Linked DNA regions of Homo sapiens: all the other regions are linked to region 1. The links are contacts of gene promoters, found by promoter capture Hi-C in blood cells and fetal thymus (Javierre and others, 2016). All regions are on one chromosome and are shown on one strand. The core of a region is centred on a gene start or on the middle of the fragment in contact, and the rest is flanking DNA. Distances in the headings are between cores, read along the strand shown.

The links. The method cuts DNA at HindIII sites, captures the fragments that hold promoters and counts their contacts. A CHiCAGO score of 5 or more calls a contact.
Region 2: the fragment with the promoter of ATP6V1B2 here is called in contact with the fragment with the promoter of XPO7 in region 1 in 2 of 17 cell types (fetal thymus and naive CD4 T cells); the score reaches 7.8 in fetal thymus.
Region 3: a contact is called between a fragment that was not itself captured here and the fragment with the promoter of XPO7 in region 1, in 6 of 17 cell types (naive CD8 T cells, naive CD4 T cells, total CD8 T cells and 3 more). The highest score is 20.6, in naive CD8 T cells.
Region 4: a contact is called between a fragment that was not itself captured here and the fragment with the promoter of XPO7 in region 1, in 2 of 17 cell types (naive CD4 T cells and non-activated CD4 T cells). The highest score is 6.4, in naive CD4 T cells.
Region 5: a contact is called between a fragment that was not itself captured here and the fragment with the promoter of XPO7 in region 1, in 1 of 17 cell types (naive CD4 T cells). The highest score is 6.4, in naive CD4 T cells.
Region 6: the fragment with the promoter of LZTS1 here is called in contact with the fragment with the promoter of XPO7 in region 1 in 1 of 17 cell types (fetal thymus); the score reaches 5.1 in fetal thymus.
Region 7: a contact is called between a fragment that was not itself captured here and the fragment with the promoter of XPO7 in region 1, in 1 of 17 cell types (endothelial precursors). The highest score is 5.9, in endothelial precursors.

Annotation. Positions count from the first base shown.
Region 1 is chr8:21,918,117-21,921,246 of GRCh38, reverse strand. It overlaps XPO7 (exportin 7), which reads right to left and starts at 1,585. Exons shown (of 28, transcript NM_015024.5): 1 at 1,459-1,585. The coding sequence starts at 1,476. RefSeq lists a silencer at 1,229-1,668. The HindIII fragment of the contact is 3,017 bases long and covers 1-1,784 here.
Region 2 is chr8:20,195,370-20,198,930 of GRCh38, reverse strand. ATP6V1B2 (ATPase H+ transporting V1 subunit B2) reads right to left here and starts at 1,550. Exons shown (of 14, transcript NM_001693.4): 1 at 1,389-1,550. The coding sequence starts at 1,524. RefSeq lists a silencer at 1,497-1,776. The HindIII fragment of the contact is 6,568 bases long and covers 1-3,561 here.
Region 3 is chr8:20,493,001-20,496,473 of GRCh38, reverse strand. No RefSeq gene overlaps it. Among named protein-coding and RNA genes, the nearest start is that of SNORD3F, 120 kb to the left of the region's middle. RefSeq lists an enhancer at 2,580-3,118. The HindIII fragment of the contact is 288 bases long and covers 1,898-2,185 here.
Region 4 is chr8:20,450,350-20,453,815 of GRCh38, reverse strand. No RefSeq gene overlaps it. Among named protein-coding and RNA genes, the nearest start is that of LZTS1, 150 kb to the right of the region's middle. The HindIII fragment of the contact is 3,660 bases long and covers 1-3,391 here.
Region 5 is chr8:20,476,537-20,479,724 of GRCh38, reverse strand. No RefSeq gene overlaps it. Among named protein-coding and RNA genes, the nearest start is that of SNORD3F, 140 kb to the left of the region's middle. The HindIII fragment of the contact is 2,547 bases long and covers 509-3,055 here.
Region 6 is chr8:20,301,990-20,305,360 of GRCh38, reverse strand. LZTS1 (leucine zipper tumor suppressor 1) reads left to right here and starts at 1,398. Exons shown (of 4, transcript NM_021020.5): 1 at 1,398-1,621. RefSeq lists a silencer at 1,339-1,408. The HindIII fragment of the contact is 16,584 bases long and covers 640-3,371 here.
Region 7 is chr8:20,213,867-20,217,214 of GRCh38, reverse strand. It overlaps ATP6V1B2 (ATPase H+ transporting V1 subunit B2), which reads right to left. Exons shown (of 14, transcript NM_001693.4): 10 at 2,247-2,397; 11 at 720-802. Among named protein-coding and RNA genes, the nearest start is that of ATP6V1B2, 18 kb to the right of the region's middle. The HindIII fragment of the contact is 1,753 bases long and covers 695-2,447 here.

The DNA of each region.
Region 1 (3,130 bases), core at 336-2,835:
TAAGATCCAAGAATTTTTAAAAATCACATAAAATATTTCATGCTTCTTAGAAATGACTGCTATAAAACGCAAGGTGCTATACTATTATTATTATCATTATTATCATCTCCTTGTATCAACTTTTACTGTCACTTCTGAATTAAGCCAAGGTACTGGCTTTGAAACACAAATCCCGTGGTTTTCCACCTGTGATTACGTTTCTTGCTATAATTCTGTCCTGACAACTTGTCCCGCACACTCCGAAGATCTACTTTACTGATCTCTGGCCTGAAAATTAAGTCTTTTATTTAGTCCCTTCTCTCCAAAGAAAGGGGCAGAAGTCACACCACTCCAGATTCTTGTAGACGTATTAAGAATGAGATCATTCTTCTTACTTGAGGAATGATGCCACAGAATATAAAGGCGACACTTCTTGCCCTCTAATCTTTCCTTGCCACAACACAAAACCTGTGCACTTGGTTACCTAGAAAATTGGAAGGTTCCCCACAATGGATGTGCATCAATAACTGTCATAAAAATATCAGATCTCTGGCACAGACAGGAAAAACTTTATCTAGTTTGCAAGAAATTAAACCCTGCAGTCCTCCATCTGCTACTGGGTTTGGTATGGGCTGTCCCTTTCTAGGGCCTGTGCCTGTCTTTGAGGAGAGTGGCCTGGCCCCACAGCACGCTAGGAGCAGCTCTTGAGCCGGATCAAGACCCTCCCGAGCAACGTCTGCACCCAACCCTGCATCTCTCATTTCAGACACACCCCCCTCCACCCCGTGTTTCATAGGAGGTGTGGGCGCTCAACTCCTTCACTGTGGCTAGGGGGACGCGAGGGGAGGCGGGCCGAGGCCTGAGCACCCATTTTGGAAGACCGGGGAGCTCGGCCCTCCGGGCTGTACGATTTGGAGTGTCGGAGGGAAGGGCGCATCCGTGGGAGGGGGAAGGAGGCCGGGGTTGCTGGGGGGTCTCTCGTATTCCGGGGCGTGAGAGGAAGGCGGCGGGAAAGACTCCGGAGAGCGAGGTTTATCAGCGCGAGGTTTCCTTTTTGTTATCTGCTGAGGGATGGCGGGCGTCATGGGGGCGTCCCCCTCAGTAAAGTCAGCAAGGGGGTCCCCCTCGCTTCACCGGGGGGCGGGCGGGGGGGCCCGAGGACTTGACGGAGGCCTCCCCCGGGGACGAAGACAGTGACTGACGAACGTTGTGGGCTGCGCGCGCCGGGATGCCCGTTCCTGTCCCTGCAGCCCCGCGCGCGAGGTGTGGGACCGGGTGGGAGGGGACGGAGAAGGCCCCCGGCCCGGGAGGCGGGAAAGGCCCCGGGGCTCCGGGACGGGCGGCGGCTCCAGAGCCCCGAGTGGCGGCGGCGCGGGCCTGCCGAGTCCCGAGCCGGCTGGCGCCCTGTGGGCCGTGTGCACCCCCGACTCCACTCGCCGCTCTTCGTGGTCGCCCCCTCCCCCCCGCGGCTCCTCTCACCTGCACATGATCCGCCATTTTGCTCCATTCATGCTCCTCTCCGGCCCCCCCTCCCCCCCAGCGCGCACCTCGGCCGGAGCCGCTGCCGCCGCCGCCGCCGACGCCGTCGCCGCTGCGCCTGCGCGCTGGGGACTCGTCGCGCTGCGCTCGTGGCGTAGCGCCGCTCAGCTGCGCAGGCCCCGGCGGCCCGGGCCGTGGTTGGAGAATGCGCAGCACCGCTGGGACGGCGTAAAGGCGCGGGCAACGTCAGCGGCCCGGAGACGCCGGGTGGGAGGAAGGAGCGGGCCGGGGGAGCGCGAAGGAGGGGCAGCTGGGGGAACAAAGCTTTGTTTACATGGTTTTTAAAGGGGCCGCGCTCGCTCCGGCAGGCGGGCGCTGGAGTGGGAGTTGGCGCTGCCTTCTGCTCGTTTGCGTGGTGAGGGCTCCTGGATGGGGGCCGAGGTCTGTCGCCGCCCCGGGACCCCTGCACCCAGTGGCTTCCTCTCTTCCCAACCGTCTTCCCCCTTGACTCGCCCCTGGACGTCTCCCACCCCCACCCCCACCCCACCCTGCAGCTACGGGGACCCCCCACACCCCACCTAGGCTGCCTGCGAGATTCCTTACTTTCCAATGCCCTCTACTCAACGGGGGCCGATTCTGTGCTTGTGTCTGTCTAGCTTTCTGGACCAGGGCCATCGCTCTCTGGTCTGGATTTCACCAGCAACCCCAGTGGTTGATCTCGTGTTTTTCATTTCTGTCCTTTCGTCCTTGATAAACATTCATGGAAATAACCACCGAATGGTGGTGATGATCAAAACATACGAAGGCACAGTTCTGGCTTCCCAAAGACATTGTCCTCGTTGCCAATACTCTAGACTGCCTCCCGAGAGGGTCAGATGCTGGAAGAGGCAGCGGGGCTGGTGGTTAGGACCCCTAGGCTCGGTCTTGTGGAGGTATGAGTGGGAAAGCCATCTCTCTGGGTCAGATAAGGTCAGCCCCTGCATGCTGAGGCCAATTCCAGTCTTCCTCACTAGGAATTATCTGTTAGATAATGCCGGTTCCTGTTTTCCATTGGATTCCACTGTGGCTTCCTTTTAAGGCCCCCAGGTTAGATCATAGCTGGATTCTGAGAGCACTGATTGTTTGAAGTTTGTATTTACAGGGGACTACCATCATATGCAAATGATGGTGGTAGTGAATTACACACCCTTGGTGGATGTAGTGGACCGGTGCTCAGCATTCATTTCGACTTCCGTCCTCCTAGTAGGTCTTCCTGGTTTGCAGAGGTAGGGCACCTGGAAACTACATTACCCAAACTTCCTTGCAGCTAGGGTTCTGTATGCAAATTAGGCTCTGCCAATTAGGCTGACTCAGAGAAGATTTAAGAGGCAGAAGATTTAAGTGGCAGAGCTTTTGACTGTTAACTTCTAGCGAGCATAGACCTTTTCAGATGTTGGGTTTTTGTTTTTCCCCAAAACCTCCCAGCGTCCAATCATTAGCTCCGAGCGTATAAAGAGGCGGGGTGATGGGGTCAGTGGCTTTCTGAACCTGGCATCGGGCAATGAAATATTCTCAGAGTCACAATTGCAATGGAAATTCTTTGGATTCCCTACTGGACTGAATAGAGGTAACAGTTTCACAGTGGGCCAGGCCCAAATTTCTGTCCACCCTCCCTTCCCCCACCCCCGCACCC
Region 2 (3,561 bases), core at 301-2,800, 1.7 Mb after region 1:
ATTTATTGCCAAGGTTTGCATAAGAATGCAACATCTGCCGATTTCCTGAAGTAGCTACTTCAGCTCAGATAAGTCCCAACATACATTTTCTAATTCGAACAATTCCCAGTTACTGTAAAAGGCACATCTCAGCAATCCACCGAATCAAATGTTTTCCTTTTTCTTCACACTGCAGTGCTATCACATGACCCAGTGACAGATCAGGATGTGGATTAGTCAGGCTTCAGATCGCCCAGACTAACACCCTTCATCTGAAATCCTTTTTAATCAGTCGGCCACCTAGAGACAGACACTCTGGCAATTAACCAGTGAAAATGCAGTCTCACCACCTGGGGAAACATCATGTGCTTTTCCCAGTTTTTTAAAAAGTCTATTTCGAGGGCTCATTGCCAGTTCCGAAGAAAGCTGTGAAGAAGTTGGATGCTACACAACTGCATTCTCTAGTAATCAAGAACCATTTCTTTTGGAATTGCTGAGCTATCCACTTAAACCTAGTTCATTAAGGCCTTTTTATTTAAAAAATCACAACATTTAAACAAGCCTATGCACACACACCACCTATGGGCAAAGCCACCTGGCTTCCCCAAAGAACCCTGCACTCAACCAAGTTTGGTTAACTGGTCAGTAAATGAAGAGGCAACGGTAGAAAAAGGCCCAGCGAGAATTTAAGAACCTGGATTTTTAGTCCCTGCTCTGCCAATAATTAAGTGTCTGAAGCATGGCAAATCCTACCCCTTCCAGAACCTTAGGCTTCTCACCTGTAAAATGATAGGGTTGGACTGGATGACCTGCAAGGTACTTTTCAGCTCTAGCGTTCTCTGATATCTAGGTGTCCTTCTGCGGAGCAGCCCCTCCACCAAACACCAAGCCACATCTCCCTCTGGCTACTGGCCTGACCTCCATCCACGAAAGGCCTGACCACGTCAGCGAAGGCTCTACCGTCTGCCCTCCGCAGGAGTTGAAGACCCCATTGAGGTCCTCACCAGGGGGAGGGGAGAAGGGGCGTTCCCTCGACCCCTAGATATCCAAATGAAGTCAGGGGAAGATTAAGATCGGAGTGGCAAGAAGTGGCCCTCGGGGACGGGAAGCAAGTGCCTAAGAAGGCTCCAGCCTAGGGAAGCTGGGGAGGGGAGGGGGTAGGGCAACAGCCAGGAGCCCACCAACCCCAGGAAAAAGTTCCCGCTGGTGCTCTTGCCCTCAGCCCATCTCCTGGAAATATTAGGTACAGGCAAATCTCCTTCTAAAGAGACAAGTGGGTCAGGGTCGGAGGGGAGACGCGGGAGGGAAAAACAAATCCTACCCCCTACCCGCTGGCTAAGCAGGTGACTGGGAGCAAAGGGCTAGGCTAGGGAGCAAAGACCGGAGACGTATTACTCTCTGATACTCACTGAGGCGAGGCTGGGAGAGGTAGTTCCGACTGACTGCCAGCGCCTGCTCCCGAGCTCCCACCGCCGGCCCACCGGTGGGCACGGGTAGCTCGGGTGCGGCCCCGTTGACAATCCCCCGCATCGCCCGCAGCGCCATCTTGTCTCCTCTGTCCCGACTGGCCCAGCAGCGACGCCGCGCACGCGCAGATATACCAAGGCGGCCCGCGGCCCGAGGCTCCGCCTATGCGCGCTGCGGCGCCCCGGCCTCGCCCCGCCCCCTTCGCCGCCGGCCGCCCCCAGCCTCGTGACTTCGCGCCGCTGGGGCCAGACCTGCTTGCGAGCAAGAGGAGCTGACCAGCGTGCTGGGAGGCGCGCGCGGGCGCAGAGGGAAGGGAAGCGAAAGAGGGGAGATGGAAGGAGAGAGGAAAGCCAGCCGAAAGAGAGGCGCACAAGCGGAGTGAGGGGAGGAAGGCAAACGCGTGCAGGCCAACGTCAGCTGATATCCATTTCGAATGGGCTTTCGTGACGCTGAATGGAGAGAACTCAAGCTGTGAAAACCGCTTTGAAAAACAGAAGCAATGGAAAACATGTTTCAGTGATTATTAACACATGTGGCATCATTTAGTTCACTTTACTCCCTACCCAATTCGTTCACGCATGTATCCATTCGACAAACATATATTGGCTTGTTATAGGATGTGCGTAGCGGTGTGAAAAATAGGGGCAGATTTGGAAGCTGTGTAAGGGGTGGGACTAGTGTAGGATGACAGCCCAGGCTGGAGGCCGGAGCAATGGAATGGATTCTTCTTCTTCTTCTTCTTCTTCTTTTGAGAGGGAGTCTCATTCTGTCGCCCAGACTGGAGTGCAGTGGCGTAATCACGGCTTACTGCAACTTCCGCCTCCCGGGTTCAAGCGATTCTCCTGCTTCAGCCTCCTAAGTAGCTGGGATTACAGGTGCCCACCGCCACGCCCGGCTAATTTTTGTTTTTAGTAGAGACGAGGTTCTACCATGTTGGCCAGGCTGGTCGCGAACTCCTGACATCAATTGATCCCGCCGTCTTGGCATCCCAAAATGTTGGGATTACAGGCGTTAGCCACTGCACCCAGAAGATTATAATTTTTAAGTTTAACTAATGTCCAAAGTTGGCACGTGTAAAATTAAACAGGAATTGTAATACTTTACTGATAAGAGCACAATTGGTATGATATTTAGAAGAACAATTTGGTGATATCTCATTCAAATATTTTGGTACTAGGAACTTATCGTTCTCTCTCTCTGTAGATATATCTGTATCTATCTATCCACTCAGTGTATGTGACAAATATTTTCCATTATATATAATACATTACGTCATGCACCATATGGTATATATTATTATATATGGTCTACAGACATATACATGTATATATACATACACACAGATATTCAAAAAAAATTTTTGTAATAGCATAAACCTAGAAACAATCTAAATGCCCATTCATAAGTTATAGCCTATTAAGTCAAAGGTATTTCTCAAACTTTTGAAAAGAATTCAGTGGAGGCTCAAGGGTTGAGTTTTTTTTTTTAAAAAAAGTCCAAGACACATTATTAGGTTTAAAATAAAAAAGCAATTGCAAAATGCCATGTAAAGTAGATTAACATGTGAACAGTAGGAGAAATTTTATTTTTAATTTAATAATCTTTCTATGTAGTTTCACTGCTTTAACAGGTGTTTGTACTGATTTTTTCAAATACAATGCATAACAACTTTTTTAATAAAAATTACAAATCTAGTCTTCTCATGCCAATTTTTCACAATGGTAGGTAAATTTCATATGTGAATATCAGACTGTTAGTTGTTACAATTTTTATGTTATTCTTTTAGGAGTAGTTCATGGCTTTTACTTTAAAAAAAACCTGTTTTTAACTTTTTACTCTGGTAATAGAAATTAGTTGTGGTCTAATGTGTATACGTAGAGTGGTAACCCCAACATTTATTTAACAAACATCTGTTGAGAAAATGCACATGTGTATCGGGTGCTGATCTAAGTCCTGGAGATATATTTGTAAATAAACAAAGACTCTGTCATCCTGATACCTGTTGGAGGGAGAAAGTCAGAAAACAAACATGTAAATAAAGTGCCTGGTAGTGTCAAGTATGATGAAAAATAATAAAACAAGATAAAGAGAAAAGAGTGATCTAGACGAAGATAA
Region 3 (3,473 bases), core at 792-3,291, 1.4 Mb after region 1:
ATTACTCAGTCTCAGGTATTTCTCTGTAGCAACGCAAGAACAGCCTAACACAAAAACAAGCTCTCTCCTGTCTCTTCTTACAAGGGTACTGATTCCATTACGAGGGTTCCACCCTTATGACCTAATCACTTTCCAAAGGCCCCACCTCCTAACACCATCACACCGGGGGTTCTGAGTTCAGCTTATGAATTTGGGGAAACAAAATCATGCAGTCCATAACTCCCAATTTTCCTTCAGGATCCATTTTTCCTGTAATTTTTCAGGAAGCATGTCAATGACAGTTCAATTAAGTACTTTACATGCCAGTTCTAGTGCTAGGAACACTAAATACATTTAAGCTTCAAATTAGACATGATTATCCTCATTTTACAGAAAAAGAAAGGAAGACCAGAGGGATTGCAGTATTTCCCTCAATCACTCAGTTTTGGGGCAACAAAGCTTGTACTAAGGCCCCCTCCAGAGTCTTCTCTATGTACAACATGGAGACATCCCAGGCAGGTGGTACACAGAAGGCACACAGGCCAGGAATAAGGCCCAGGCCAGTGTCCTGGGCACCTGCTGCCACCGACCAGCCACAGGGTCTCACGGACCACCTCGGAGTTTGAGTTTCTAATATGTAAAATCAGTGTTGGGCCTTCGCTCTCCATGTGTTATAAGTTTCTTAAGGAGGTTAAGGCCTATCTGAAAGAGCCAAAGGGGTTAAAACCTGCAAAATGTGGGGTGGGAGCACGTGCATCCCAGCAGGAGAGATTAGCAGTCCTGGAGGGGGGGGATCTGGTGGGGGAGGGATAAGGCAAGTGGAGTTGTGAAGATGCTGAGGTTTTAGACTTAAGACCTTAAACAAGTCAGATGGAGATGGGGTCTCCATTTGTGTCAAGTAGGGCAACCAGGGCTGGTGACATAGGACACAGTGCAGGCAGCTTCACTCTGGGGACTTTGGCTTCATGGCAGTGGCTCAGGAAAGACTCTGGACCCCAGGAGGTCACAGCCCCAGGAGCTGGCTGGGATCGTGGAGACTGTCTGATGTGAGCACACAATGGAGGAATGTGCCCCCCGGAGCCCACATGCACTCATTTCTCTTCTCTACAAGTCTTTGGCTGCTGGAAGAACCCAGGTGCAGAGAGTTGGCCAACCCTTAACCTCTTGGGCTCAAGCAATCCTCCCACCTCAGCCTTGTGAATAGCTGGGAATACAGGCACGTGTCACCACACCAAGCTATTTTTTTAACATTTTTTTATAGAGATGAGGGGTCTCACTATGTTGTCCAGGCTTGTCTCGAACTCCTGGGCTCAAGTGCTCTTTATACCTTAGCCTCCCAAAGTGCTGATTAGAGGCATAAGCCACCATGCTGGCCAACTCAGCTTTTCAAGTAGTTCCTCTTATCTTTTGTTATGTAACTGTTCACACCCTGTTCCTTTAGGGTTTTGTTAAAGGCCAACCATCTAACCCCAAGTCAGTGGTTCTCTCTGAACATTTAATCCCTAAAAACAACAACATCACATTCAACTCACAAAAGGCCCAACTGCATTATGGTAACCAGGGTTGAAATTCACCTCAGCAGACTTCCAAAACTCACATGGCTGGGATCTAAGTAGGCAAATGCCTGTATTATATGTCTCTGTGATGGTAAATGGGGCTAAGTCACCAGAGTCCAGGAGCCTCACACTTCTGCCAGGAGCCATGGAGCGACATGGCTGCTCTCCTCTCACCCTTCCCTTCAGGGGCCCCAACAGGCTTCCCAGGCCTCAGCGGATAGACGTGAACTTTCCAGCCCCTGGGCTGAGGTGTCTCAAGGGACTTCTTGAATTACAGACCCAGACACCAAGAAGCCTCCCCTTCTCCATTTGGGTGTGCTGTGGCAAAAAGAGAACAATTCCCTCCTTTCCACCTCCAAGCTTGTTTTTAGCTCTCTCTCTCTCCTAGCACCTAACTCATCAGCATACAGAGTAGTTTTGATAGAACCCCTATAAGGCTTTCTCTCCAAAGAGGGATTTTAATACCCTTCTCAGTGACATTTTATATGATAACAGTATGTAAGTTTGACAGGAAGCTGTTTTCCAAGAGTTAAAGTCCAAACAGTCCCACAGATCAGACTGATAATGGCTTTCCTGATCATTATTAAATTCCCTGTGATTAGAAAATGGGCCGGTGCTATTGATTTAAGCTCTTTGAGTTAAGCTAAGCTTTAGAGGGCTTTCACAAGGCACAAAAAGGGCATTTGAGACTGTATTTTACCTTCCCAATTAAAGTAGTTTTCAGAGTACAAACAGCAGACAGCCAGACATTAGGCAGGCGTTCCAGAAAGAAAGGTGGAAGCATTTGTCCAGAACATGGAACCAGAAGACAAGCCCCATCACAGCCAAGACAAGCCCCATCACAGCCAATGCTGCAAAGTGCAGACAGAGGTTGAGGCTCAAATTCCCTAAGAAAAAAGGCTTCCTACTCCCAACAGTGCCTGGGTCAATGACACTTTGAATTCAACCTCAAAGCATCTATAGGTGATAAGAATTTCCAGTCCTAGAATTTTGAGTTTCAAGGATTTCAATTTCAATTTCAAGGATTTTTTCATGTGGTCTTTCAATCATGGTCAAGCTGTCTATACAAATTTTGCATCAAGAAATTATCGCCAAATCTCCAAAGGCTAAAGATTCCAGATTACTTTTTCAGCTTAATAAGTGAGAAAAGAATGAAGGCAACGGTGTTTCTATTACAATCTAAAGCTCTAGAGAAAACAAGGATCCCTAGAGGAAAATCTTGAGCAATTGCAGGGTCTTAAGTGCTTTGTGTCTTTCTGAAGGAAAGACACTTGAGGTTTTTAGGTGCGCCTGCAGTGCCTATTTGTTGCCCAGACAATAAGCAGTTTGAGCGACTGTGCTCAGGCCCCTGAGCATTTCTTCTCTTGACTGCCTGTCTTCTAATCCGCCCCAACCCCAGGAGAGCTTTTCTGAAACCAGTTGCTTCCTCTCCAGCTGGGAGGTCTTGGTGCCCAATGTCTTTGATTCTGCCCACAAGGGGCTCAGCATCCAAGCTAGGAGCCTTGTCATACGCATCCTGTCACTGTTTTTTTTCTTTTTTCAAACCATGATCAAAAGTAAGAAACTTATTTTTAAACCACAACCCAGCCTGTGACAGGCATTTAAGACAAAAACGAAAGTTTCAGCAAATAATACTCATGCGTACTAGGGGCATTTTGATGTCACAGCCCGCAAAATTGATGTTATGGTTCCAACAGGTGTCAGCCTGCAAAATGAAAACTGCTCGGTGTTATCAAGGATCACAAACATTCCTTTAAAATGTATTTATTTAGCAATTACTTAGAGAGCACAGGGCATGTGCCTGTGTTAACTGTTGTATGGGGACAGGGAAGAATATGGAAGTCTCTCCCCTCAAGCAGCTCACAATTGACATGGAGAGGCATAACTGATATGTAGGAAGATGTAAATAGCAATGCCTAAGAGATTGGTGTTCAGATG
Region 4 (3,466 bases), core at 312-2,811, 1.5 Mb after region 1:
GAAAGCATCTTCCCCACTCTCCCCAGCCTCCTTCTCCTCCTCTTCTTACTTATAAAAATCTAGCTCACCCTCGAGGCACAATGTAAATGACATGGATGTGGGGAGGCCACGTCGTACCTGACTGTGTGTCCAGGGCTCTTGCTATCACACAGGGTATGCTCTGTGGATCAGGAGCACTGGCGGACATCAGGGCTTGTCAGGAATATAGAGTCTCAGGCCTTGCCCCATAACCACTGAAACACACTCTGTTTTAACAAAATTCGTGGCTGCGTCTGATGGCTCACGCCTGTAATCCCAGCACTCTGGGAGGCCAAGGTGGAAGGATTGCTTGAGATTAGGAGTTCAAGACCAGCCTGCCCAACATGGTGAAACTCCATCTCTCCTAAAAATACAACAACAAATAAAAACCTAGCTGGGCATGGTGGCATGCACCTGTAGTCCCAGCTACTTGGGAGGCTGAGACAGGAGAATCACTTGAACCCAGGAGCCAGAGGCTGCAGTCAGCCGAGATCATGCCATTGCACTTCAGCCTGGATGACAGAGCAACTCTGTCTCAAAAAAAAAAAAAAAAAAAAAAATCCATGAGTGCTTCACATGCAAAATAAAGTACGACAAGTTCTGTCTAGAGAATGCCTTGTACACAGTGCCTCACGCATTGTAGTCATTCAGGAGGTGTTTGTTGAGTGAATAAGTGAGTGAATCCAGGAAAGATCATCAAAGCCCAGTCATGGTTTCACCCACAGCCAGTCCTGAAACCCAGAGATGCTTCTTAGCTGTTTAAATAGAGTTATCGACACAACCCAAGAACCTCCCACACTCTCCTCTCACTTTATTTCTCCACTTCCTCCTCCAGAATCAGGCACCTCCCACCTCCCATGGACAGCCACATCCCAAGCTCAAAAATGTAATTAGAAAAAGTAGTTTTTACAGCAGCTCATCTATAACCCACCCTATAGCCCTGCCTTTGTGGAAGGAGGCAGTCCATCAGGGGGTGTGAGTGATGGGCCAACCAGCAGACCAAGGCAGGGAGGAAGCCCTGCTCCCATCCGTCATCCCTTCTCCCTCGATCACCCTGCAGACCGCACAGCAACGCAGAAATGGCCCCCTCCAGGCCTGCAGGCGGCTGGCGGCTCTTCATCAACCTCAGCACTGCTTCTCCCACACACATCACCTCATGCTCTTTGTAACTTCCAGCAGAAGAGCCTTCCGTAAAGACTGCTGGGAAAATCCCAGGGAGAGAGGCCTGCCATCCGGCGTAACAAGGAAGGCAGGTTACCTCTTAACCATTGATCCCCCTCACTCTCGTCCCACCCCAAACACCTGGGAAACCCCATAGATGGGCAGTCAGCCTTACCCTACAGCAAACGCCAATCACCCTCTGAAAATAAGGCACTGACTTGTGGACTGTCAAAAAGTCTCATGAAGACCACTCTCACTCCAAGCTCCATTTTCCATACATCAGCCAAGGACTCATGCTACACATTTTGAGGAATATAAACAACAACAAAAAGCAATATATTATTTATGTTACTTTGACTTCGTGTAATGTTTTGCTCCCATCAAATTGTTTTCATATCCATTATCTCTTGAGTCAGGCAGACAGGAACTGTTATCACCATTTCACAGATGGAGAACCTGAGATGCAGAGAGGTTAAGCCTCTTCCCGTTTTTTGTGATTTATACCCTCCCTATGTTCAGGAAGGATTTTCTACAGCTTAAAATAAAATGATATTTACATAATGACTCGCATTTGAAGTTTAACTGTAGAAACATTTCACATTTGGTCAAAAACTACGTGCAGAACACATGTTATGACAATCGAAGTACTTCAATTTATGAAGAAAATCACCATTTGCAGGTTTTATTTGCTCAATAAACTTATATTGAACATTTAAAAAAACATAACAACTGTACTTGTATACATGTGAATATAAAATAAAGATGTAAAAGGAATCAGAAATCATCTAGGCAAAGGAGGAGATTTTTGTGCCAAGAGCCAGAAACAGACTCTTCACTATAGCTAGCCATAAATTGGCCTCTGGGCTTCCTAGCAGGCAAAGTAAAAAAAGGAACATAACATGTTGCAAGCCATTACTGTCAGATGAAAGAAAGAGAGCATGTTTATTCAGAAGAAACAACTGTTTCCTGGCATTGAGTTCTAAACAAAAGTTATCAATGGAGTTACAGGGAAATGGAATGGAGTAAGATACTCAGTCGTCCCTTCAGCAGTGACCATCAATGGATATGGAAATGTCCTTCATACCAAGACTTTTCAGTTGAATATTAAGCGAGATGCAGTGCCCGGCCCCAGAACAAACATTTCATAGAGACCTCCTAGATACTTTGATCCTCTGTAGCTATTGGATAAACTCTTTCCCTCTCTTTCTCAGCCAAAGGTTTTTAAAGAATAGTCTTCAATCGGCCAGACCCAGTGGCTTTCACCTGTAAACCCAGCACTTTGGGAGGTTGAGGCAGGTGAATCACAAGATCAGGAGTTCAAGACCACCCTGGCCAACATGGTGAAACCCCGTCTCTACCAAAAACACAGAAAATTAGCTGGGCATGCTGGCGGGTGCCTGTAATCCCAGCTACTCAGGAGACTGAGGTGGGAGAATTGCTTCAACCCAGGAGGCAGAGGTTACAGTGAGCTGAGATTGGGCCACTGCACTCCAACCTGGGCAACAATGCAAGACCCCATCTCAAAAAAAGAAAAAAAAAGAAAGAATAGTCTTCATGCACAGCTCCTATTTCCACGTCTCCTATTTACTCCTTAATTTATTAAGCCAAACATCTGCCCCAACTCTCCCCTGAAGACAGCTCTTCATAATGAATTCCTGGTCCCAGAGGAATCAGGAAATGGGTTCACCCTAGTGAACTCCTATAACAACATACCAGAGACCAGTGACTTCAACAACAGACTTTTTTCTTCCCCCTGTTCTGGTGTCTAGGAAGTCCAAGATCAAGGTCCCAGCCTTGGTCATGTTTTCTGCTTCCTGGCTTAGACAGCCACCTTCTCCCTGTGTCCTCGCAGGGCTGACATATGGTTTTGGGCAGCAGGGGAGAGCTTTGTCTCTCGTTAAGGGGACTCTAATCTCATGATGAGAACTCCACCCTCATCTAAACCTCATTACCTCCCAAAGGCCCCACCTCCAAACACCATCACATTAAGGAATAGGGCCTCAACATGTGAATTTGGGGGAAGTACAAACATTCAGTCCATAACACCGCCCTTCAGTTTCCTTTGCTACATTCCTGTCCTTGGCTCAGGCAGAGCCCACTGCCCCAGTTCTCTTCTTCTGGCATTCTGTTTTGTTCTTCGACTCCCTGATGGGCTGTTGCTTCTCCTTCTGATGTCCCCAGCCCCCTGGACACCTTCTCTCTGGGGAAAGCTTAGGCACTCTCAATGTGGACACCACTCTAAGATGAGGAGCCTCAAGTCCCCACCTCCAGCCAGCCTTTTGCCTCA
Region 5 (3,188 bases), core at 533-3,032, 1.4 Mb after region 1:
AAGATGTTTAATAAACAAGAAATATTCAGCTTAGTTCTGCTTACAAAGGACCATAACCTACAGAAAATATTCAAACACCAGGAAACACCAGAGAACATTATTGGATGGCAGGTGAACCACGTAACAGTCAGATCTCCTAACAAGGAGGAACAACATCACACAGAATCATGTGTCAAATGGCCACATTAAGGACTTATTTTGCTTCCAAAACCTGTTATTTCTTAGAACACCATTCAACAGTTCTGTATCAAGTACACTTTGCACATAAATTTAGTGATATGTATTTTAATTGCTTGAAGGATGCACCACGTGCAGCAGACAGGGCCATAGACACGTACGTTAACTCAGCCACGAGATTATGAGAGACTGATGGATTAGGTCACAGCCACCTCTCTACCTCCTTCTGACCTGGCTCTCAGAAATGTTGATATTAACCCTTGACTCTGCTTTCAACTCAACGTCAGTGCCTTCCTTCAAAACTGTAAGGTCTGCATGTTGATTACAAGCTTTAATTCCCACAAGAGACTTATAATACTTTTTCCCATTTTCCTGACTTCTCGACTGATTTTTCTCAGGAATCAGGATTCAAAAAATATAAATTTCTCCCAAGAAATGCCAAGAAGAATTTTCCACATGCAAACACAAGGGAGGAGGGTGGCCCCCTTCCTGCCTGGCAGGCTGTGCTCTGCAAGGAGTCATCCCTGGCTGGACACAGGGGACTTCAAGGCCACACGCTGGGCACAAAAGGAAGGGCCAGGCATGCTGGCTCACGCCTGTAATTCCAGCACTTTGGGAGGCAGAGGTGGGCAGATCACTTGAGGTCAGGAGTTTAAGACCAGCCTGGCCAACATGGTGAAACCTGTCTCTACTAAAAATACAAAAATTAGCTGGGCCTAGTGGTGGGCACCTTGTAATCACAGCTACTCGGGAGGCTGAGGCAGGAGAATAGCTTGAACCTGGGAGATGGAGGCTGTAGTAAGCCGTGATCATGCCTCTGCACTCCACCCTGGGTGACAGAATGAGACCCTGTCTCAAAAAAAAAAAAAAAATAAGAGGAGGAGGCAGTTGATGGGGTTCATTCATTCAGCCCAATGCTGGACAAGGATGCCCTTGTCCCCCAGGGCCTGGGGTTCTGTGTGAGTTTCCTGTGGCTGCTGAAATAATGTGCCACATGCTGGTTAGCTTACAACGGCAGAATCTTATTCTCTCCCAGTTCTGGAGGCTAGAAGTCTGAAATCAAGGTGTTGATAGGTGTTGGTAGGGCCATGCCCCCTCTTAGAACCCTTCTTAGAATCGGTCCTCTAGAGAAAGAATCCGTCCTCACCTCTCCTAGCCTCTAATGCCCCCAGCAGTCCTCGGCGCTCTTGGCCTGCAGCTACATCACCCCAATCTCTGCCTCCATGTTCCCATGGCCTTCTTCCCAGTGGCTGTCTCTGTCTCCAAATCTCTCTTTCCTTATCAGGACAGCAGTCGCTGGACTTAGGGCCCACCCTAATCCAGTATGACCCCATCTTAACTTGATTACATCGGTAAAGACCTCATTTCCAAATAAGACCACATTCACAGGTATCAGGGGTTACAGCCTCAACATATTGGTTTGGGGGACCCAATTCAACCTACAACAGGCTGCATTAGCAAACAAAGCAGACATGGATCTGGCTACGGCTGAGTTTCCCAAGTCAATGGCTGGGTGCCTTGGGTGCACCCTACAGCACAGAGGGTGAATGAAGAACCATGGCAGGCAAGTGGAGCAAGAGCAGAGGCACTCCCTCAGTGTGCAGTGATCTGGGAAGGCTTCCTGGAGGAAGAGACATCCACCAGAATCAGGAACATTGGGCTTGGGAAGGTTCCAAAGAGAAAACAGCAGCAATGAACAAAGGCCTGAGGTTGACAGAGCAAGGCCTTGGCCTTTGCCCTAACTGTCCCTCTGCTCAGGAGGTAGGTCCCCAAGATCTTAGCACAGCTACCTACTTCCCTGTCGCCTCTTTTGGAAAGATGTTTCCTGGCCAGGCTTAATCCACTCTTCTCTATCACATCACCCAGTTTATTTCCTTCAAGACACATCACAACTTGCAATGGTTAATTATTTGCTCACTTATTGTCTCTGGAAGTTAAGTCTCTGCGGGTACGGTCCTGCCACCTTTTTTCACAGATATAGCCAGAGCACTTAACACAGTGCCTAGCATATTGTACACAATAAAAATGAAGAAATAAATGACTGAATATGTGAATGAACATGTGGAAATAGTTTCATTGAGGCTAGATTGCAGAGTCTGAGGCAAGAACTGGCAAGACAGGAAGCTGACGTGGGAAATGTGGGCTAGAACATTCAGGATCCTGTAGCCAGATCCAGGAGCTGGGACTTGTTGTGTAAGCAATGGAGATTGGGGTAGAGTGAGATGGGGTTTTTTGACAAAGGAAAGTGCATAGGGGCTTGAACTTGGCATCTAGCAATGGGCTAGCAATCGGCAAGCATCCCAAGATCTGGGTAGAAACAGATTCTGAAAGACCTGGAAATTCATACCTAAAACATGCATTGCTTAAAGCAGGTGCTCAGTAAATATGGAGTTGAGTGAGTGGGTGAGTGAGTGAGTGAGTGAGTGAGTGCGTGCGTACGTGCATGAAGGAGCCTCTTACTAAAAGCCATTGAAGTTTTACATGAAGAGGGCACAGAATTCCTGCTTTCTGGGAAACCCTGTATCCCTGAAGTGTTCTTCTCCAAATTTTGGGAAGCAAGTCCCATTACTAGAACCCTCACTGCTTTTTCTTTTTTTTCCCTCTTGCACTCTCCTGAACCAAGGAGAGGCAGATCTGTGCACTCCTGGGAGAAGACTGCCCCACCAAATGGCCAAAAGTCAGAACCAGAAACCTGCAGGTGAGAGTTGACGCCAACACCTCACTGCTTCTATCAGCTCCAAGCTGGCTTCACAGGCACTTTCCTGCAGCCAGGATGCAGTACCTCCCGCTGTGTGAGCCCTGGGCTCTGCTAGGCACAGAAAGAGATGCTGTAGGGGAAGCCTTTGAAGGCCCAGCCACCTGGCCAAGTTCACAAGCTTCCAGCAGCGTCCTGCCCCATGTTGCCTGCAGGACTAGAAGGTCACCAGACACCTGCAAACTACAGATCTCCCTTTGCATCTCCACAGCAGAGGATTTTCAGGCCCCTGGGCCTTTCCCTTCTTACTGTGAGC
Region 6 (3,371 bases), core at 149-2,648, 1.6 Mb after region 1:
AGCTGTCCCCCCTGCCACCACAATTCTATTTAATTTTTTTGTATTTATTTATTTATTTATTTATTTTGAGACACGGTGTCACTCTGTCACCCAGGCTGGAGTGCAGTGGCACTATCTTGGCTCACTGCAACCTCTGCCTTCCAGGCTCAAGCAATTCCCAAGCCTCAGCCTCCCAAGTAGCTGGGATTACAGGCTCCTGCCACCACACCCAGCTAATTTTTGTATTTTTTTTTTTTTTTTTTTTTAGTAGAGACGGGGTTTCACCATGTTGGCCAGGCTGGTCTTCAACTCCTGACCTCAAGTGATCCACCAACCTCGGCCTCCCAAAGTGCTGAGATTACAGGCATGAGCCACCGCGTCCGGCCCCCATGCTATTTATAATCAGATCGGCTATGTCAATCCTAATCCATTACATCTATCCCCCACCCCCCAACACACACACACACACACACACACACACACACACACACACACAGGCTTCTTTCAAGATGAGGCTAACACTCCTTGGGCAGAGCTGCCATCTTCCCGCCAAGCCTGGTTTTAGAGGATTAGCCTCAGTGCACCCTCAAGCCCCCAAGCCTCATGCTGCACCTAGCACTCCGGTTAACTGACCCTTTGTCCTACAAAACCTTGTAAGCTTGAATCCTCTCCTGGCTCAGTTGCTAGAAGTTAAAAGTGAGGGTGGTTGAGAAAATGATAGTATTATAAGGGGACTGGGTGAGACTAATAGCTATAAACTTGAAACAGGCCTCTGCTGTCACCTGAAACTCAGCTCCCTCAGAGCTGGAAAAGTTTGCTTTTGACATGTTTTGGGAGTGGGAGTCCCGGTGCTCTGGACTCTAGCCTGTAATCCTGGTGTGGTTCGCAATGCCCCTCACTTGGGTGCTAGTCCAGTCCTTGAACAAAACACACGCCCTTTAGTGCGAGTCGGGAGCGGGAGAGACGGTATTAAGAAAAATAAACTGGCGATTAAGAGGAAGGGGTAATGAAGAAAGGGGAACATACACAGAACGGGAGAAGGAATGGATTTTAAACAAAACTGGAGTAAGAATTTCAGGTAATGAAAGGGAAAAAAGGATGCGACAAGAGCAAGACAGGAACAATCGGAGAAAGGGGGCCAGGCAAGAAAGGAAGACTGAGGGGGCAGGGTCGCCCAATGGGGCTGATGGAAGTGAGAGCAGAGAGACGGGACCCGGGACCCCGCGCAGGCCGCGGGCGCGAAGGAGCCGCGAGGTCGCGAGCAGCCCCAGCTGTCAGCCCGGAACAAAGGCCGCCGAGCGGCACAGACCAGGCTGCCGGCAGCTCGCTGCCAATCAGCGGCGCCGGCTCTGGCCCCGCCCCGGGCCGGCCCCGCCCCGCCCCGCCCCGCCCCGCCCCGCCCCGGCTCCGGGACCCGCGCAGAGGCCGGCGCGCCTGGAGCTGGCGGGTTGGCAGCGGCCGGGCGGGGAGGCCGAAAGTTTCTCTGCCCGCCTCGGCCAGTGAGTGGGAGCCGGGAGCTGCATCCCGCGCAGTGGGACCGGCCCGGCCCGCTCAGCAGCTCTGGAAAAAGAGAGACGGGAACACACCGGGAAACACTGGGAAAAAAAAAAAGTCTCAAGTGCGCCCGAGGCGCAGGGGGCAGGTAAGGTGCGGTGGCCGGGGATCTCCTCGCCCCTGGAGGGTCTGCTGCCCTGGCTGCGGGAAACCGCTTTCCCCTCGCCGGGCCGGACCGTCCGTGCGTCCGCGCGTCCGTCGGTCTTTGTCTGTCTGTGTCCGTGGCTGTCGAGGTGTCTTTGTCTCCGCGTGGAGCTGTCAGGGTCTCCCCTCTGCAGGGTGGGCGCCGCTTCTCCGGCCCGGCCCAGAGGAGGTGACTGTGCGTCTGTCCTCCTGTCTTTGTCTTCGTGTCTCCTGCAGACGGGGTTCGTCTATTCCCAGCACCGATGCTGATCCTGGCGGGGACGTCAGTGTTAGGTGACACTGGTGTCGGAGGTGAAGAAGTGGGAGGTGGGGACGCGAGGCCGCAGGAGCAGGGGCCGCAGGAAGAGGGTCCGGCGGTCGGTCCGGGCCGCTGAACTTCGCCGCCTGGAACTTTGCAGATGAGCTGTGTCCACACCGGTGGGGAGGACACCGGTGCGTTGCAGCCAGAGATTTGAAAGGTTTCCCTCAAGGAATAAGTCACACGGGCGGAGGTGGTTAGAGAGGAAGGTGGTAAATCGAAGTGTCTAAGTGGCTCCCTGGGGCTGCAGCTTCCTGGGGTCGGTCCTGGATGTGCAATTCAGGAATTTAGTCAAAGCACCATGCACACACAGACAGCCCCACACTACCTTCACTTCTTCCACCGCCACCCTAGGCAGCCAGACCTCACCCCTCCACCCTGCCACAGGCTTTGCTCTGGCTGGAGGGGCTTCAGAGGTCGCAGCTTGGCAGCAACAGGCATCCCCGAGACACCAAGGGCCAGGTGATGTCTCTTTTTCGTGCTCCAAGTGGAAAGGTTTGAACTGTGGAGCAAATGAGCCTTGTGCTCGCCCACGAGTATGTCAGGCCTGGGAAAGTGCTCCAGACTTGTTAGCTTCGCAGTCTTCAATTTCCCAGGAATAAGAAGTGCTTAGGGATCTGGCCTCCTAAAGTGTTTCCTGTCTCACTTATTCCCTCCACACCGTCCCGCTGCCATCAGCCCCTCTACTCTCTGGTCCCGGGCGCTGGGAAAGTACTGAGGAGGCACTGAGTTCTGGACCATGCCGGGCAGGCGCTGCTCCTAATAAGGATCCCACACTCTGCTGGAAGTGCAGCCTAATAGGAATGCTGGGAGCCCAGGAGCCCAGCCACAAAGAGATGAGCTATCTGCTTGGCAGTTCCTGCACCAAGACCCTGAGAAGAGTCTGCGGGTACCGGCAAGAGGGTGTTTGCAACCTGAGCTTTCTCTAAGTTCAAAAACAATTTTCTGCAGGCATCCAGAGGGAGAATGGAGGTGCCCGAAGAGTGTGCGCATATGGGTATTAGAGATAGCATGTACAGACGGGAAAGGTGTTTGTGTTTAAGAGTGGAGTGGAACATAGTCTGTGGGTAGAAGTCTGTGGGCAGAGAGCATGCAGGCTAATCAGGCGTGGCGTTACACCTTGTATTTATCCAGCGCTTTTCTTTGGAGGCTCTTTCTGCTCATCATAGACGTTATCTCATACGTTATCTCCTTTATCCTCACAACATAACTACCAGGTTGGTGCGGTGGGCTCTCTGTGCCTGCCAGTGAAGAAACGGAGGCGTCAGAAGGGAAAGGCTTTCCCTAAGGTCCCACAGCTAATAGGATGGAGCAACTGGGAGTCCTAGTAAGAGGTCTCAGCTGGGTGGATGTGAGTGTGGGGCGCTCACTCTGCTTAAGAAGAGAAGAAAACTAG
Region 7 (3,348 bases), core at 322-2,821, 1.7 Mb after region 1:
GTAGAATGAGAGGGAAAAAATACTATATTTAAGTACAAAACTCAAGTTTTACTGGTAATAAAAAAACATTTGAAACTCATTATTACAACTTAAATCAAAGACAACCGCTGCATTTGTCTCCTAGATGAATCCTACTGTCTCTTCCTGGCAAGAAAAGGTAGTAAGAAACACTTTATAGCATAGCATTTCTTTCGAGAATCAAATCCAAAAAAGTGTCATCTATAACACTGTACAAGACTATTTTAAAAAACTCAACTTTCAACATCTGTTTGATAAGTACTACCACATTATCGAGTCAAAATGGTCTTCTGAACTGACTCAAAAAATTATACACAAAATAAAAAAAATTAACAATAATTCCTAAAAGCTGATTTTAGAAGTCAGCATCTACTAGAGAGGCATGGAAAAGTCATTTTTTTCTATCAATAACAAGATTGGTAGATGATACCATTATGGAACAGAATTCCCAAAAAAGTTCTTGGAGACAAGTGACTCTGTTTTAAGACACAATAAAGGAAAGTGTTAAGAAGATTCTTAATTCTGGCGCTCTGCCGACACCAGAATTTAAGATAATAGAAATGACAATTTTATAACCATATTAAAAACAATTCAAGTTGATACTTTCTAAGCAAAGCAATTCCTAAGAGCAAAATCCAAGTCACTAAAGAATAACGGATGAGCAGGTCTGCAAGCTTCCCAGCACTGCTCCCGTCCAGTACCTGTCTGTTGTGCAGCTGTCTGTCCACATAGATCTGCCCCTCTGTAATGTAGCCAGTCAAGTCTGGGATGGGGTGAGTGATATCTACCAGAGGAAGACAGTTGGCATTAAGCATGGCATCTTTAGGTTATGAGTTTTAAAGCGGCCATCTCTCAGAACCAAACCCACAAAAAGTCCCTCTGTACTACCTGTAACATTACTTAGAAGAGTGTTCTTAGAGTCATTTTCTGTGATGCTGCCAATGTTCTGTGTCTGTGCTGTGCAGTACGGTAGCCATTAGCCAAATGTGGCTATCTAACACTTGAAACGTGGCTAACAAAACTGAAAAACTTAATTTCAATTATTTCAGTTAACTTGAACTTAAACAGCCAAATGTGGCTAGCGGCAACCATACTGGCCAGTTTAGTTTGGTTGCAGCAGTTAGACATGTGTTGGCTCTATGAGGTAAACTGGCTGCATTCATTAAAAATACTCTCTCCCCTAGGTAAGCGCTCTCCCCTCTCAATATAAGTAAAGTTTCATTTTAAACCCAAAGTTCCCTTATAGAAATTTGCCAACCTGATGTATACTAAGAACATTCTTAGTTCATAAGCTATGTCGGATGGATACACAACATTTCACCATGCAAAACGCAGGCATATAGACAAGTAAACAACACTACACAGGCTGCACCAAAAAGGTCACACAAAGCAACACATTTCCAAATCTGTTAAATTACATCATTTTGTAGCTACTCCCTTGGAACAAATCATTTTCACGTCAGAGGCAGTACAGAGTAACAGTGTGAGTTATGAACTCAAACTGGGTCCTAAATCTATCACTTGCTAATCTCAACAAATCATTTGACCTCCCTGTGCCTCAAACAGCATCTGCCTCAAAGTTGCTATGAGGAGCAAATGAGTGAATATTTATAAAGCACTCAGAACAGTGCTCAATTACAGTAAGTAATAACTTACCATATTTTGTCAAAGTGTTGTTCAAAAACTGAAATAAGGACAAAGAGGCAACACAGGAGAGGAATTCTGAATAGTCGTACCCCATCCTGGGCACACACACAGACAGGCATTGGAAAGTCATTTTTAACCAGCCCTTGGTTAAAAAAATCTGTCTCTCAGTTTTGTGGAGTTTCCCACTTGTACTCCTCATGTGGCACTGAACATGGCCATGTTAAATTACCGGTGCACACACATAAAAAACATCCCCAATTAGACTGAGTAACTTACATTAAGTAGAGACCATAAATTCTTTTCAAAAATTCTTTACATTTAGAACAGTGTCCTGCAAACAGCAGGCACTCAATAGTACCTAATAAAGTTAAAAACTTAAATTATGAAGAAAATTGCTTTTCCTCCACAATAGGATAATAACTGTGGGTAATTTTCAAATGAAAAATGTTTTATTTAGGCAAATAACCAAGATAAACTCTTAGGGGATGTGTTCTCAAAATAACTTCAACTCGAAAAGGTAGATGGGTCTTCTCTCTCTTTAAAATGATTAGGTGTGTTATAATCCAAATACCAAAACTTACCATCATTAGGCATGGTTAGAATAGGGATTTGAGTAATCGAGCCGTTTCTCCCTTCCACTCGCCCAGCGCGTTCATATATCGTGGCTAAATCTGTATACATGTAACCTGGAAAACCTCGTCGACCAGGTACCTCTTCCCTGGCTGCTGAAACCTGACAGCAGGTCAAGCAGAAGAGTATCATGCACGATATTACAACAAGCTTGCTTACAACATGTTTGTTTCAACATGCCAAAGTACAAAGTTGAAAATCCCATCATGTTCATTTTAAATACTGTCCTTAAGAATGATTTAGAAAAATCTCCCGGCAACATAAATTCAAAGTATTCTGTAACAAAAATGTTGACAATGGGGCACCAGAAGGTTTTTGCTAAAATCGTATTGCCATAATGTAAGTTTTCAAATAGTTTGCTAGAAGAAAATCTGTTTGCAATTTTATAAATCAAAGGAAGTTAATTTTAAAACAGAAAAGATTCTTGGTTCACAAGATTTATTCCACGTGGTGGAACTAGCCATATTTATCTAACCTAATCCCAAAAAGGTCAAAAGGGAAGGAAATGTACACGAGGAATCATCTGCTGCGCTTTACAACATTATTTAACTTAATCCTCACAGCAACCCTATGAGGAAGGTGCTACCTCCAATTAACAGTTGGAATCAAGGGTCAGAAAAATTAAACAATTTCTGAAGGTCACAAAGTCAGGAGTCCATTGCACTGCACAAAATAAGAATGGTGATAAACGATCTTTCCCTTAGAGACATGGATACCAGACTATAGGTGTGCATGTTCACCTACAATCAACTAGAACCCTAAAGCATTATGAAATCCAACTTCTAAGTGCTACTCTGACATCTTCAAAGGAGCGTGCTACAGCGGTGCTCCTCACAGCACGGTCTGCAGACCAACTGTTATCAACATGCAATGATCACACAGAAAGCAAGATAAGCATTTAGAAACTTTCAGGGCAATTTGGCAGAATAATTTTATGCCTGTTGAATCTAACAATTCTAAAATCTGCATTTGTAAATTATATATATAGTTAAAATTTCACTTTTCTAATAACTCAATTTTATTGCATTTTACAAAAGTATTGGTCTGTGATGG